2 separate regions of the Homo sapiens genome follow, and region 2 is linked to region 1. The links are contacts of gene promoters, found by promoter capture Hi-C in blood cells and fetal thymus (Javierre and others, 2016). All regions are on one chromosome and are shown on one strand. The core of a region is centred on a gene start or on the middle of the fragment in contact, and the rest is flanking DNA. Distances in the headings are between cores, read along the strand shown. Region 1 holds the start of PHLDA3 (pleckstrin homology like domain family A member 3). Region 2 overlaps CSRP1-AS1 (CSRP1 antisense RNA 1).

Region 1 (2,704 bases), core at 66-2,565:
ATTCAACCTAGAGGGAAAGAGGGTCGGCCTCCACGATCCGCGTCCCCACCCTCGGTTGTCCTCAGCTGCCAGAAAGCCGAAGTCCAGGAGCCCTGCTCTGCGTGGAAAGCAGAGGCCCACAGCCTGGGGCAATGTGCAGGCCAACCTCCCTCTACTTCCTTCCACCTGAGTCAGGGCTGAACCAACTTGAAAGAAGGCTCATCTCACCCAGGTATCCCCCTCCCAGGGCTTCCATCTTCCTCTCACACACCTGGATCACATTCTGGACCGGCCAACCTGGTGCCTCAGGGGAAAGTCCGGATCTGCTGGGTTGGCCACTGGCCCAAGCCTCCCATGCCCTCAGTTGGCCCCAGGAACCTCCCCCCTAAGATGTCCGGCTCTGAAGTAGAATGCTAGTCCTCATTCTCTCTGTAGGGGAAAGAGAAGGGAGGGAAGGAGAGAAGAGGGCCCAGTCCCCCGGGGGCTTACCTGCCTTGACCTCAGCACTGAGGTGGTGGGTAGCATGAAGGAAAGATGGTGCGCCCGGTGGTTTAGGACACGAGGGTCCCGGTCCCGAGGCTCTGCCGGGCCCGCACTGTCTGGATGGCCTGCTGGTTCTTGAACTTGACCAGGCCTAGGGTGATCTGGGCGTTCCAGCCGGGATCTTCCAGGGGGCAGCGGAAGTCGATCTCGCCGCCCCCTTCGGTCACCAGCGTGAAGTAGATGTGGCGCCCGGTGCTCTCCACGCACTCCACGGCCTTGATGCGGGCGAAGCTGAGCTCCTTGGGCCGGCCGCCCGTGCCCTTGGCCTCGAAGAGCTGCAGCCCGCGTTCGGTGAGGACGCAGCGCTTCCGCTTCCACAGCTGCAGCAGCCCGCCGCTGCGCTTCTCCAGCACGCCCTCCTTGAGCACGGTAGCCGTCGCCGCCGCCGTCATGGGCGCCCCGAGGTTCGCGGAAAGCTCCAGGCTGCGGCGGGCGCGGCGCCCCTCTCGGCCCCGCAGCGCAGGATTCTGGCGCCCCGGGCTGGCAGGCCGTGCGCGCTGCCCACCTGCGCCCTGACTGCTCCGCGCACCCACACCGCGGCCCTCAGCACCCGGCTGCCGGTGAGGTGGTGTCGGTGCCCCCAGCGCGCTCCGCGCCCACCGCCCCGCTTCAGCCGGCACCCGCTCCTCCGCTCTACCCCAGCTGGCCCAGCCCGACCCGCCTCTGCCAGATGCCTCCGCGCCTCCCTAGGCCGTGAGCCCCACCGCCCGCCCGTTCTCTTGCTCCCCTGGGCTCTGTCTGCGCGCTGGGCGGCAGCTCGCGGGATGTGCCCTTACATGTTCCGCCGCTCGCCTCCTGCGCCGCCCGCCCGCAGCGCATTCCTACCCTGGCCGGCCCTCCCCTCCGCGCCGCGCACCAGCTCCGGCAGGGCCCCGGGGGCGGGGCCGCAGCGGGGGCTCAGTCACTCACTGGAGGCGCAGGGCGCGGGGCGGGGAGGGCCGGGACTGAGAGGGGGCTGCTTACTCAACAGCCCAAGCCTTCTGGCTGCCGTCTGCCGCTTCTCGGAACCGCAGCTCCCCCAGGCCTTGAATGAAGGGGGAGATGGCGGGGAAGGGAGGGGGAAGGCGCATCTCCTCGATTGGAGAGCGCGCTGCTAGCAAGGGGGTGGGCTTGCTTGGCGAACGCGCAGTGGCACCAGTTGCATGTTAGGCGTCAGACAGCTGCTGGTTACTTGGCACGCCATGGGGCCCCCAGCCTCTGCATCAAGCCCATGTTGGGTTCCTCCTCCATCGCCCGATTTCTCTGTGCAGCACCCAAGAGAGGCTGTCCATCGCTGCCTCTGCTTGGACAGTTCACCTGCTCCTACTCCTACCCCCATGCATTGCGCGGGGAGGCCTGTAGAGAGTAGCCAGTGCCAACAAAGGAGAGCTGAGGCTTGAGGTCATTCATGCCCTCCTCGTAGTGGGGGAGGAGGGACCCCCTCCGTGACCTGGGGATGCCACTGTCTGCAGTCCTCTCCACCGCACACTTGCAGGCGCCGACGCTGGACCGATGGCACAGCCAGTCCCAGGTGTAAGCGCAGCTCCAACCTTGCTCCTTCCGCTCCGCAGATTCTGTCCTCCCTCGGCCTTCCCCAAGAATGGACTTCTCCCGCATACAGAGCTGGAGGGGAACGCAGAGGGAGAGGTCTCTTTCTGTTCTGGCTAGAATATTGTGTAAACACAAGAGCTTTGCAGAGTTGAGTTCAAACCTCTTCTCCCTTGTTGGCTGTGTCCTGCCCACCTGGGGCAACTTTACTGACCTCCGTCAATTTCCTCATCTGTCGAATAGGAGGATTAATTTATTCTCATCTCATGGGGTTGTCCTGATGAATAAGTTGGATAACATTTGTGAAAGACCCAAGACAGGACCTGACAACTCTTGAGTCTCAAGAAATGTTCTTCCTCCCCTCTCCCCACTCTTATTCCCTTTAGAGAATGATGGGGGCCCTGAGATTAAGCCAGGCACTGGAAGAGGGCTCTCTTAGGTCCTCATTCTGTCCCCATCTTGATCAGTTCCTCCAGGCCCACAGTTTCTTAAAGGTCTATTCATCAACATGTTAATAATAGATTCTTACGGGAGTAATGATATATAATAATGACAGTAATAAGACCTCTTTGTACTTACACCCTGTGTTGCCATCCTCCTGCCCAAAGAGCAGAGCCTAACAGATACAGGGAAGGTCCTGTTGTGGGGATAGGAG
Region 2 (2,700 bases), core at 78-2,577, 48 kb after region 1:
TGTTTTAGAGTCAAATCATGAACTGAATTCCTTCAGGGCAAAGTTATTTCCACCTATGCCCAGGAATGAACAAGGACAGCTTAAAGGTTAGAAGCAAAATGGTTAGGTAGGTCTGATTTCTTTACTGTCATAATTTCCTCAGTTATAATTTTGCAAAGGCAGTTTCACAAGCAACCACAAGGCATAACAGCTATCATTTGGGGGTAATACAGGGAAGCAGGGAGCAGTCATCATGCATGAGCAAGAGCTGGGTCAGAGATAAGACACAGCCCCAGGTTAGAAGGCAGCTTCACAGAGATGAATAGGGAGTGAGATCAAGGACCACAGCAGAGGTTGACAGCCCAAGGCCCTTGATGGCACTATGACCTGAATGTCCAGGATCTTCCATGTCAACCACCAACTTTATAGGAAAGGGTGCACGAGCCAGGAATAATGGTGGTCAAGCTTGGCTGTGTGGGAAATAGGGAGTTTGCCTGCCTGGCAGCTGCTGAGTGTCTCAGTAGTGAGCTTCCAGCTACACAATATCTGGACCCTGAGACCCAAAGAGGAAGGAGACTTTGGCTTCCTTTACTATGGGCATTCTGTGACCCACCCTGGCAATGAGAAGGACTAAAGAACTACAAGATATTAAATCTACCTTATGTTTTTCACTTGCTTATGAGCACTGGAGCTCCATCACCTGAGCCCCCACTAAGTGCAGATGTATGTGACTTTAGAAAGGTTAGATTTACTCTTCATAGCTCAGGGTATAAAGAAGTGGTCCCAATAAAAGTTTCCTTTGCTACAGGGGGCTGAGGACAATCATGAGGTTGTGAACTCTTTGAGGACAGGATTAGATCTTGGTCAATATCTGTATGCTCAGTGCCTAGGGTAGCATCTAGTTCATGCAAGGAAGGAAAGGAGAGAGGAAGGAAGGAAGGAAGGAAGGAAGGAAGGAAGGAAGGAAGGAAGGAAGGAAGGAAGGAAGGAAGGAAAGAAAGGAGGGAGGGGGGGAGAGGGAGGGAGGGAGGAGAGTCAGATAATACAGAGAGGCCATACCATGAATTCTTAGTCATACCTGACCTGGCCACTCCAGGAGCGCCAGAAGAGTTGCTGGAAGCCCACATAGACATATGGTATATGATAACATTTTTTTTTAAAGAGATATAATTCACATGTCATATGATTTTCCCTTTTAAAGTGTACATTTCAATGGTTTTTGGTATATTTACAGTTTTGCAATCATCGCCACAGACCATTTTAGAACATTTTATTAACCTAATAAGAAAGCCTGTACCCATTTGCAATCACTCCTGCTTTTTCCTGCAACATCCCTAGCAACTGAAACTGTCTTTGCAAAAATTACAGCAATGAGAAAATTATCACAGTGAAAGAGATCCGACCTAATTGACTCCATCTTGCTTCTAATCTCCAAGCTGCCCTTGTTCATTCCTGGGCAGAGGCTAAACTAACTTTGGGAGGAATTCAGCTTATAACTTAACTTTGAAGCAAAGATGAAAACAGCCTTTTCCCTTAACACAGCCCCTTCTTGCTTGGGGACCAGACTGCTTGTGTAGCACTAACAAATTAGCCTCAAGATTAATGCTGACAGTCCGGGCGCACAGTGGCTCAGGCCTGTAATCCCAGCACTTTGGGAGGCCGAGGTGGGCAGATCACCTGAGGTCAGGAGTTGGAGACCAGCCTGCCCAACATGGTGAAACCCTGTCTCTACTAAAATTACAAAAATTAGCTGGGAGTGGTGGCGGGGGCCTGTAGTCCCAGCTACTCGGGAGGCTGAGGCAGGAGAATCGCTTGAACCCAGGAGGCGGAGGCTGCAGTGAGCCAAGATCGTGCCACTGCATTCCAGCCTGGGCGACAGAGTGAGACTCAGTCTCAAAAGATTAATGCAGACAGGCCACGAGATTTTGAACCTCCCCCATTGCTCCGAAAGATAACATCACTATTGTAAAACCTAAGATCAGTGCTCCAGACATTTTTCACACTGCATTCTGATGCACCAGCTGGCCCCACCCAGATCGGTAATCTGGCTCAACCAGTTCTGGGATCTCACCCAGGAACAGAGGACAGGAAGAAAAATCCCACTTTGACCCCCTATGATTTCATCGCTGACCCAGCCAATCAGCATTCCCCACTTCCTGGCCCCCTACACACCAAATTATCCTTAAAAATTCCAGTCTCCAAATTTTCCAGGAGACTGGTTTGAGTAATAATAAAGCTTCTATCTCTCTTTCACCAAGTTTTTGTAAATTAAACTCTTCATTGCAATTCCCCTGTCTTGATAAATCTGCTCTGTCTGCGTATCAGGCAAGGAGAAGCCATTGGGTGGTTACACAAGTACTTATCCACTTTATGTTTCTATAAATTTGCCTGTTCCCTGTTCCGATTTTTTTTTTTTTTTTTTTTTTTTTGAGACAGGGCCTGGCTCTGTCACCCAGGCTGGAGCACAGTGGCGCAATCACGGCTCACTGCAGCCTCCACTTCCTGGCCTCTAGCAATCCTCCTGCCTCAGTACCCTCTACCCCCTTGCCCAGTAGCTGTGACTACTACAGGTGCAGGCCACCAAGTCTGGCTAATTTTTATGTATTTTTTGTAGAGATGGGGTTTCGCCTTGCTGCCCAGGCTGGTCTCAAACTCCTGAACTCAAGTGATCAGCCCATCTAGGCCTCCCAAACTGCTGGGACTATAGGTGTGAGCCACCGC

The links. Contacts are between HindIII fragments. The CHiCAGO score rates a contact against its expected background, and 5 or more counts as called.
Region 2: a contact is called between a fragment that was not itself captured here and the fragment with the promoter of PHLDA3 in region 1, in 1 of 17 cell types (monocytes). The highest score is 5.0, in monocytes.

What each region holds. Positions count from the first base shown.
Region 1 is chr1:201,467,873-201,470,576 of GRCh38, forward strand. It overlaps PHLDA3 (pleckstrin homology like domain family A member 3), which reads right to left and starts at 1,316. Exons shown (of 2, transcript NM_012396.5): 1 at 469-1,316. The coding sequence starts at 914. The coding sequence ends at 531. RefSeq lists enhancers at 496-555, 626-765, 987-1,701, 1,216-1,335 and silencers at 836-1,145, 1,356-1,585. The HindIII fragment of the contact is 14,509 bases long and covers 1-2,704 here.
Region 2 is chr1:201,515,839-201,518,538 of GRCh38, forward strand. All of the region lies in intron 1 of CSRP1-AS1 (CSRP1 antisense RNA 1), which reads left to right. The region is part of intron 1 of LOC124904484 (a long non-coding RNA gene); the gene reads right to left. Among named protein-coding and RNA genes, the nearest start is that of CSRP1-AS1, 10 kb to the left of the region's middle. RefSeq lists an enhancer at 2,513-2,700. The HindIII fragment of the contact is 1,771 bases long and covers 443-2,213 here.